2 separate regions of the Homo sapiens genome follow, and region 2 is linked to region 1. The links are contacts of gene promoters, found by promoter capture Hi-C in blood cells and fetal thymus (Javierre and others, 2016). All regions are on one chromosome and are shown on one strand. The core of a region is centred on a gene start or on the middle of the fragment in contact, and the rest is flanking DNA. Distances in the headings are between cores, read along the strand shown. Region 1 holds the start of NIT2 (nitrilase family member 2). Region 2 overlaps ADGRG7 (adhesion G protein-coupled receptor G7).

What was found. The method cuts DNA at HindIII sites, captures the fragments that hold promoters and counts their contacts. A CHiCAGO score of 5 or more calls a contact.
Region 2: a contact is called between a fragment that was not itself captured here and the fragment with the promoter of NIT2 in region 1, in 1 of 17 cell types (megakaryocytes). The highest score is 5.3, in megakaryocytes.

Annotation. Positions count from the first base shown.
Region 1 is chr3:100,331,007-100,336,006 of GRCh38, forward strand. It overlaps NIT2 (nitrilase family member 2), which reads left to right and starts at 3,751. Exons shown (of 10, transcript NM_020202.5): 1 at 3,751-3,792. The coding sequence starts at 3,786. RefSeq lists enhancers at 3,519-4,087, 4,181-4,230, 4,251-4,310, 4,431-4,510 and silencers at 3,751-4,080, 4,479-4,773. The HindIII fragment of the contact is 2,232 bases long and covers 2,380-4,611 here.
Region 2 is chr3:100,626,261-100,631,181 of GRCh38, forward strand. It overlaps ADGRG7 (adhesion G protein-coupled receptor G7), which reads left to right. Exons shown (of 16, transcript NM_032787.3): 2 at 3,338-3,451; 3 at 4,445-4,549. Among named protein-coding and RNA genes, the nearest start is that of ADGRG7, 19 kb to the left of the region's middle. The HindIII fragment of the contact is 3,882 bases long and covers 1-3,520 here.

The sequences.
Region 1 (5,000 bases), core at 2,501-5,000:
TTCTGGAGGGCATGGAAGCTTTGTGCCCCTCCTCCCATACTTTGCCCTACACATCTCTTCCTTGTAGCCTTTGCAACATCCTTTATAATAAACCAGGAAACATGTTTCCATGAGTTCTGTGAGCTGCTCCAGCAAGTTATTCAAACCCAAAGATGGGATCATGGCAACCCCAACTTGAAAGTGGTTGGTCAGAAGTTCTGGAGTCCAAGACATATGACTGGTGCCGGTGTGTCTTCCTCAGGTAGACAGTGTTGGAATTGAATAGGAGGATACCCAGCTGGTGTCCGCTGCTTGGTGGTAGGGAGGAACCCCCTCACATTTGGTCCCAGAATTCTTCTGTGATGATGATTGTTGTGGTGGTGATGTAAGAGCAGAGGAAAAACACGGAGAGTTTTCCTGGAACACATATCCACCTCTCCCCCAAAAACTGAGCTCACGTTCCCCTAGACTCACCTCATACTATGAAGCGGCAGCTGGAGGAATGCTGATGGAAAGGAGAGACCAGTTAGGAAGTGCCTGTAGCAGTCTCCCCAAGGTGAGGAAGGCCTACCTGTGGACGGTGGTGGTGGGAACTGAAAGGAGGAATCAGGGACATTTCCTGAGAGTAAGAAGAGCCCTGTCCCTTACCAGAGGTGGGGAATGAAAGACTCGAAAGTCACTGAAGTGACTTAGGTTTTCTTGGAGGGCTGGAAAGCAGGGAGAATTAGAAAACTGGGCATAAATTGTGGTGCCTGTAAGTGCTGGGTGGAGAAGCTCTTTTGGAGGTGATACATTTAGTTTCACATAGTTGAGTTGGAACTGATGTTGAGACATGTAAATAGAGATGGCGGCAGCCGGAGATGTTGAAATAGGTCCTCTGGAGTAAAAATAAAAATCTGACTAGTAACAGCCTGGAAATGGTCATTAAGCCTGTGAGACATGGGTAGAAATGAGAATAGAGACTGAAAAGGCACACCAGATTTTTAGCTGGGCTTTCAAGATCCATTTGGCCTGGTAGTTTTGTTTTTTGGCCTATTTTCATACGTCAGATGAACAGGAACATGGAAACGAAGGCAGAGCTGCTGCAGAGAAGGGACAGTGAGGGGAGTGGTGGTGGGGAGGGCTGCACAAACTTCACCCTTCAGCCAGATTCTTCTTCCTTTGCCTCTAAATCCTTTCACATACAGGTGAGGAAAAGGTCCTGAGGGTGAGGTGATTTGCCCTAGGTATTAACATCTAATCAGTGTCAGAGCCAGAACCAGAACCCAGTGACTAGCTTTTCCATTGTGCCCAGAAAGTTCTAAAGAAAGGTTTAAAAAGCGCACTTTCATTTAGCTTTTCCTTTTCTAGGAACACCCCTAGTGCCCAAGTCAGCAGTTTCCCTGCATGTGACAGAGGGACACAGTACCCATAGGCTTTTGGTCTTGATGGCCTTCTCCTGGTCCTGCTTCTCTCTCTCTCTTTTTTTTTTTAATGGAGTCTGGCTCTGTCACCCAGGCTGGTGTGCAGTGGCACAATCTCGGCTCACCGCAACATTCGCCTCCCAGGTTCAAGTGATTCTGCTGTCTCAGCCTCCTGAGTAGCTGGGATTACAGGTGTGTGCCACCACGCCCAGCTAATTTTTGCATTTTTAGTAGAGACGGGGTTTCACCATGCTGGTCAGGCTGGTCTCGAGCTCCTGACCTCTTGATCCACCTGCCTCCACCTCCTGAAGTGCTGGGATTATGTTAATTATTAAATCTAGGAGGAGGACACAGCTGTTCCTCCACCAGGCAGTGGCGCCCGGCCTGGTCCTTCTCCTCTAATGGCTCCTTCCCAGGCTCCACAGGCCCTTCTTCTTTTGCGTGTGCCTTTCATACTCCGCTTGTGTGTTCTCATCCAAATTCAGAGCTTCCTCTTAGTTAAAACTGCTGGTGACTCCCAAGTCAATTTCCAGCCCAGACATCTTCTGAGCTTGAGGCTTTGGTCCGGTTGCCTACTGGGCATCTCCACCTGGATGCCATGGCTCATGCCTATAAGGCCAGCACTTTTTGAAGCCAAAGTGGGAGGATCACTTGAGCCTAGGAGTTTGAGACCAGCCTGGGCAACACTGTAAGAATCCACTTCTAAAAAAATGAAATAATTTGCATTTTGAACAAGCACTTCAAATAACATTTCCAGCCAGGTTTAGGACCACTATTAGTTACAATGTTAGTCCAATAAATTTGGAAATCTAGATGAATTTTTTTAACAGGTTGTAAGTGACCACAGGTTGACCCTGAAACCTCATAGGTTAATAAGCATAGCAGAAATGAAAAGGTTTTTAAAGATCTTCCTGCTACAAAGCCAAGTCCAGATAGTCTCTTAAGCTGCAGAAAGACCATAACTGCTATGTATTTCCCCCCAATTTTTTTTTATGAAAGCTTAAAATTTTAAACTTCTACAAAGTTTTAATCTAGTACCATGAACAGCTGTGTCCTCCTCCTAGATTTAATAATTAACATTTTGCCATATTTGCTTTATCTTATGTGTTTTCTTTTTGCTGACGATTTTCAAGTCAAACATTCTGATGGTTCATCCCTAATACTTCCTCATTTTCTAAGAGTAAAGAATTGTCACAAGCACAACACTATAGCACACAAAATAATTCAGAAAAGCATCAAATATCTCGTTCATATTTAAATCTCCCTAGTTGCCCCCAAAATGTTTTTATAGTGTTCTTTTACAAACCAAGATCTGTTTCAGTATAAACTATTCTGGGGCATTCCAAAAGGTGGTTAAGTTTTGGATTTTTGTTCCACAAGTCTGACAAGGCACAAAAACACAAAACACGAAAATTAAAAAGCAATCTAATAAATAAAAATGCAAAAATCATAGTCTATAGGCTGGGCGCAGCAGCTCACGCCTATAATTCCAGCACTTTGGGAGGCTAAGGCAGTAGGGTCTTGAGCTCAGGAGTTTGAGACCAGCCTGGGCAAAATAGCAAGGCCCCACCTCTATTAAAAGTAAAAAACTTAAAAAAAAAAAAAAAAGAAAGAAAGAAAGAAAAAGAAAAAAGGAAAAGAAATAGCTAGGTGTGGTGGTGTGTGCCTGTAGTCCCAGCTACTTGGGAGGCTGAGGACGGAGGATCGCTTGAGCCGGGAGGTTGAGGCTGCAATGGGCTGAGACTGCTGCACTGCACTCCTGACTGGATGACAGAGTGAGACCCTGTCTAAAACAAACAAACAAAAAAGGATATTAGCAAAGAGATGACAATGTATTCGAGGACTGACTTGTTGAGGGCATGGCGTTGAACCCTCAGCATCTTTCCCGTTGGCCTAGCAGCCTTGTAGTCAGATTTTACAGACGTCTCGCGTGCCTAAACCAACCAGGGTCATTCCGTCCCCGTCACAGAGACTTGTTCAAATAGCTCAAGCCCATCAGCATACGGTGTTAACCTGGCCACAGAGGTGATTCAACCAGCTAGAAGTTCAGTCCTTTTGCGGAGAATCAGCAAACGCTACAAATCAGGGCTTTCCTCCCTGAAAAGTCTGGTTGTTAAGACATTCACCAGCACACCACCTCGACTTAGGCCGTTCCCTTTTGCCCTTTGCCTTTCGAGGCATGCTTTTTCCGGACTGTGTTGCAATTAACCATTTCTCGTTGGTCCGTCCTGGTGTTACAGGCGCACTGGAATGAACGCAGACCCTTCTCTCCTCCCGGCCGGGGCCAGGAGGAGGGGTGGGGCGGGGCCTCTGACGCGGTCCCCGCCCCACCGTAGCGACGCCGCGGTCCGCCGGATCTCCAGCGCTCAGTCCGCGCCGCAGGTGGTGCTTGTCTGCAGAGTCATGACCTGTAAGTGGCGCGGCCGCGCGCTGCAGCTCGAGTTCGGGCCGCGGGGGAGGCTTTGGAGCGGCGCCGGCGGTGGCTCGGCCGGCTCAGCCCCTCCGCCCCGCGTCCCCGCCGTGCGCGGCCTTCCCTGAGGCGGGCGTCCGCGTGGGTCCGGGATCGCGTGGCCGGGCGGCCGGGCGCACTCCCGGGATTCCAGGCTTCCGGGGTGGCGGGCGAGGCCCAGAAAGCACCAGGCCACCCGGCCGCGCCGGCACCCGCCGCGTCCTGCTTGACAGAGGCTGATGGACGTGTATTTCTCCACGGTGTGGGCCGCGGTGGTAGGATCCAACTCCCTTGGGTGTTTTCAAGTTGCGTGACCTCCTCCAGCCCCGCCCTGCACAAAGGTGCCCAGGCGGTTCTTCGTCTCCCCACTCACTTTCCAGCTCCAGATTTTGACTTGGATTCTTGCTGTGTCACTTACTTTGTTCAGTGACTTTGTGCAGCTTTCCCCCTGCAAGTCCCCTGTTTCTTTATTTGTAAAATGATGTTAATGATACCTCACACAATGATGTTAATGTGTGAAGGACCTGGCACATTGCTTTAAATGTTATTCCTTTGTTGTTTCCTTCGCTCACAGTATTTTATTCTTTTTTTCCGCCCCTTGGTAAGGTCTTCGTTGTTAGATTATGATGAATATTAGGGCAGCCTTAAAAGTCTTCACTTTACAGATGAGATGGAGTGACGGGCGTCTCCTCCTCAGCATGAGGAACTGCCCAGTGGCGGGGTTTCCCTGCTGCAGCATGTCTGTAGAGTGGGTCATTTGCAGAATGATAGGCAGTCCTAAGCTTAGTTGAGGACCCCGCCCTTGTGGGTGAGATGTGTAGGAGAGGAAGCCATCAGCGTAGCCATGGTGAGCTTTATCTTTCCCACCCTCGGAAGCACAGACATGGCCCGGCACGTGGCTCACGCCTGTAATCCCAACAGTTTGGGAAGCTGAGGCACGAGGATCGCTTGAGTTCACGAGTCAAGAGTTGGAGACCAGCCTGGGCAACATGGCGACACCTTGTCTGTACTAAAAAATACAAAATTAGCCCGGTGTGGTGGCACGCCCCTTTAGTCCCAAACTACTTGGGAAGCTGAGGAGGGAGAATGGCTTAACGCTGGGAAATGGAGGGGAGACGTTTAGTGGATTTATCTGCTGTTCTGATAACAGCTCAAAATATCTGTTTGCC
Region 2 (4,921 bases), core at 330-2,829, 290 kb after region 1:
ATCCATTTCTTCTAGATTTTCTAGTTTATTTGCATAGAGTTGTTCTTCTTTTTGGCCTTTCTAAGTGTTTTGCATTTCCATAAATATTTTAAATCCGCTTGTTAATTTCTATAAAAAAACTTTCATTTATGGATTTTGACTGTATCAATTTGGGGAGAATAGACACCTTAGCAACTTTGAATCTTCCATCCATACAAGGTATATATCTCCATTTATTTAGATCTTTTAAAATTTATTTGAACGGGGTCAGGCATGGTGGCTCATGCCTGTAATCCCAGCACTTTGGGAGGCCAAGGTGGGCGGATCGTGAGGTCAGGAGTTCGAGACCAGCCTAGCTAATATGGTGAAACCCCATCTCTACTACAAATACAAAAATTAGCTGGGCATGGTGGCATGTGCCCGTAGTCCCAGCTACTCGGGAGGCTGAGGTAGAAGAATCGCTTGAACCCAGGAGTCAGAGGTTGCAGTGAGCCGAGATTGTGCCACTGCACTCCAGCCTAGGCAACAGAGCAAGACTCCGTCAAAAGAAAAAAAAATTATCTGAACAATGAGATCTTGTTAAGTAAATTTTGTTAGATTTATTTCCAAGAATTTTATAATTTTTGATGCTATTTTAAATGAAAATGATTTATGCTTTTATATTTCAATTGTTTGTTGCTAATATGTGAAAATGTCTTTATTTTATGTCATGCAGTCTTGCTAAATTCACTTATTAATTATAGTAACTTTTTGGAGATATCTTAGCATTTCATATATTTGATGATATCATCTGCAATTCCTTCTTAATTTTACACTTTTGTTTCTTTTTCCTGCGTATTGCACTGCTAGCATCTTCAGCACCATGTTGAATCGAAGTGGTTATAGCAATTATATTGAACTGTGTTTTTGTCAGTCTTAGGAGAGACAGTATTCAATATTACACTGTTAAGTATGATATTTGTAGTAGGTTCTTCACAGGTGATTTTATCAGTTTGAAGATGTTCTGTTTTATTTCTCGTTTGCTGAGAGTTTAAAAAAAGTGAGATGCTTTTTGTCTCCTGCATTTATTGAGATGATCGTGAAGTTTATCTCCTTTATTCTATCATATGATTAATTAAATTAATTGATTTTCTATTGATTGCCAACCTAACCTTGCATCCCTGGGATAAATCTCACTTGGTCATGATGTATTATTAGTTTTATATGTTGAGAGATTTGACTTCCTGCTATTTTTAAAGGATTTTTTTGGCATCTGTGTAAACGTGATTTATTGGCCTGTAACTTTATTTTCTTGTAATGTCTTTGTCAGATTTTGGTATAAGGGTTATGCTGGCATTATGAAATGATTTGGGAAGTTTCTTCATTTCTTTATTTTCTAAAAGAGTTTGTATGAGATTGGTGTTATTTCTTTTCTAATTTACGAGTAAAACTATCTGGGCTGGCAGTTGGATACTTTCAGGATTTTCTCCTTATCTTTGAGTTTCAGCAGTTTGACTGACTGTGAAGTGTCTATGCATGGTTTTTCTTGCATTTGTTTTTCTTGTGATTCTTCTGAGCCTCTTGGATCTATAAGCTGAAGTTCTTAACAAAATTTGGGAAATTTTGACATGATTTCTTCTGATATTTTATCTTCCCTATTCCTTCTCTTTTCCCCTTCTAGGACTCCAATTGCTTATATGTTAGACAATATGTTGATATTGTCCCACAGATTCTTGAAGCTCTGTTTATTTTTTTAAATCTTTTTTCTCCCTGGATTTGAGAGTAATTTCTACACAAACTTTGAGTTTCTTTTCTATATGGCTCCTTTTATTCTGGGATATCTACCTTCAATTTCCAGTTGTTCTTGCAACCCCAAAGAGTTTCCTGTCATACCTTAACCCATTAAGACTGGCTTTCTGATCAAGTTTCAGCCACTTCTGCCATAGAGACTGGGTAGTGCCCTTAGTGGAAATACTATAGAGACTTCGAATACCTTTCAGTTTCTGCCTGTTTTTCATTGCTGTCCAATGCCTTCAAGTAGTTTTTTTTTTAAAAACGTTTGTGCAATTATTACCATTGTTATCTATGAGAGGGTTAATATGGTACAATCTATTCCATCATTATTGAAACTAGAACTCTGCCACTTGTTTTTTTTGTTTTTTTTTTGAGATTACTGTGTCACCCAGGCTGGATGCAGTGGTGTGATCTCAACTCACTGCAACCTCCGCCTCCCAGGTTCAAGTGATTCTCGTGCCTCAGCCTCCCAAGTAACTGGGACTACAGGCAGGCACCACCACACCAGGTTAATTGTATTTTTAGTAGAGATGCGGTTTCACCATATTGCTCAGGCTGGTCTCGAACTCCTGACCTCAAGTGATCCGCCCACCTCAGCCTCCCAAAGTGTTGGGATTAGAGGTGTGAGCCACTGCACACAACCCTGTATTCTTCCACTTAGTTAATTTGTTCACCTTTCACTCTGTTTTACAATTTAGAAACTCTGCTATCCCCAACTCAAAATAACTAGTCATTAGATCCTAACAATTCTTTCTCAGGTATGCTTCCTGAACCTAGTGACACCTAACTTTCTTAGAGTCACTGCTTGAGTTCTAGTTCTCATTTAACTGGTTTTCCTTCCCCCTTAGCCTCAGTCATTTCCCATACTCCTTCACTTATCCTCCTAAAAATAATTCCTTATGTTACTCCTTTGTTTTATGACCCCTCTAAGGTTCCTTCAAGATTAAATCTTCTTGGTTTGGTTTATAAAGTCCCTTCCAATTGAATCTATGTCCTGATGTTGTTCCACATAGAACCAATGCTGATGTTAAATTCTTCTCTGTTCCTTAGACACATCAGAACTTTCCATGTTTTTGTGATTTTTGCAGTTCGTATCCTGCCTACTCGGGTCACCCATTTTCATCTGGTTTTTCAAGATGTAATTTTAAAATCCAGTCCACATACTATCTCTTACCGGGTCTTCTTGGCTAGGTTACCTCTGTCATCAACCTCTCTCCTATGTGTTTTTACTGTACTTATAAGCCTCCATGTTGACTCTATCTATCTATCTATCTATCTATCTATCTATCTATCTATCTACTTACCATCTATATAATTTCTGATTTCTCAGGGGATTCTAATCTCCTTGGTCAAAGTATTATGTCTTTCAACTACATCTTTCTGGTATCCATAGCATCTAGTAAGCATTGTACATCTAGTGTAGATTCTCAGTGTATATTTTATTAATGATGATATTACAAAGAATATTTCTCAGCAATGATACTCAAAGCAGTGGTTTTACGTGTAGAAATTAAGTGGCCACAGGCATGAAAGGAGAAATGAATCAGCCAGTTCATGACTATTCTGTTATTTATTGTTTCTTTAGGAAAATCTACTTCCTCATCAAGCACCCCTACAGAGTTCTGCAGGAATGGTGGAACCTGGGAAAATGGCAGATGTATTTGTACAGAAGAGTGGAAAGGACTGAGATGTACAATTGGTAAATTACTTGGGATAATGCTAAAGTGTAAGGTTTACGTCACTCTTGTGTTAATAAGAATAGCAATAAAGCTTCTAGAAGCTTCAGTTAATGGTTACAGAAACAATGGACATAATGATGATGGCTTTAGGATGTGTTTATCAGCTCAATAGTAAAAGCTGAGTTTTCTTCTTGGCCAATTTATCAGTATATTCAATGCACCTTATCTGTTTCCTGACTACTAAGTTTTTTTGCAAACTCACAGTCGTGTTTCCTGGCTGCAATGACTAATCCAGGGCAATGAATGACATGATTCTCTCAGGTCCTTTCAATTGGTAATATGCCATAATATACCATTTCAAATATCACTACTCTAATATATTTAACTTTTCTGAAATCAATATGCATCTTCCTGAGTATATACTTATATTAAATTTTTATCTTTTCTTCCTCTACCTTGAAGAGTTGTTATTAAGTTAGTGGTTTGATTTCAATCAATTGTGTCTCAGAATCAAAGTTCAAGGCCATTTTTAAATTTGAGGTGTGCTTCCCAACACCGTACACTTCATGCTGTCTGCTTAGGGTTCAGAGCCCTAGATATCCACTGCTATCATTTCCTATACTCCTACCAGTCAATATATCCCACAGATCCCATGAATTTGCCTTTTTGCTTTGCCCACATCCTCATGGTACCGTTGACCACTATAGGCTCTATATTTTTAGTTCTGAAGATTCCAACTAATCTGTTACAGTATCCTAGCTCACATTCCCTCTCTACCCAGGTTTATATTGTGCACATTTTAACTGGAACCTGTTGTCTAACATACTAGTTATTCTAACGGCAATGACTTAACCAGATAGCAAAGTATAGAAGTTCCTCACAGGCCAGTGGGTTCTATAAGCCTTCTATTGCCTTTCAAATTTCACTGCATAGGTTCTGACCTTTGACTTTTATCTGGTTTCAATTTTTTTAAAATACAATTTATAATAAAGAACTTTTTCTCTTTATTACAGCTAATTTTTGTGAAAATAGTACCTATATGGGTTTTACTTTTGCCAGAATCCCAGTGGGCAGATATGGACCATCCTTGCAAACATGTGGCAAGGATACTCCAAATGGTATGTGTTTTCCCAAACATTTACTCTATGCATAAGAATTACTATGCTGAGTCATACCTCTCATACCTCCTACTAGTGTTAGGTCCCTGAAGGGCATCAGGAAAGGTTTTGTGGAAGGACTTAACTCCCTTTCGTGATGCTAATGTTCAAAACTTAAGGTAGTATCTCACAAAATCTTAAATTTCCCAACAGTTTCATATGAATCAGTTGTTTGTGAATTTCTCTGAATCTTTCCTTAATTGGTTTATTTTTCCAGCTTTTGCTTTCTCCTGGAGTTCAATTAAATTGACATTTGCTCCTTTAGTTATATAATTAAAAAAAAAGTTCTAATCAGCCAAAATTATGGACTTGTATCATATCTATTTTCAGATT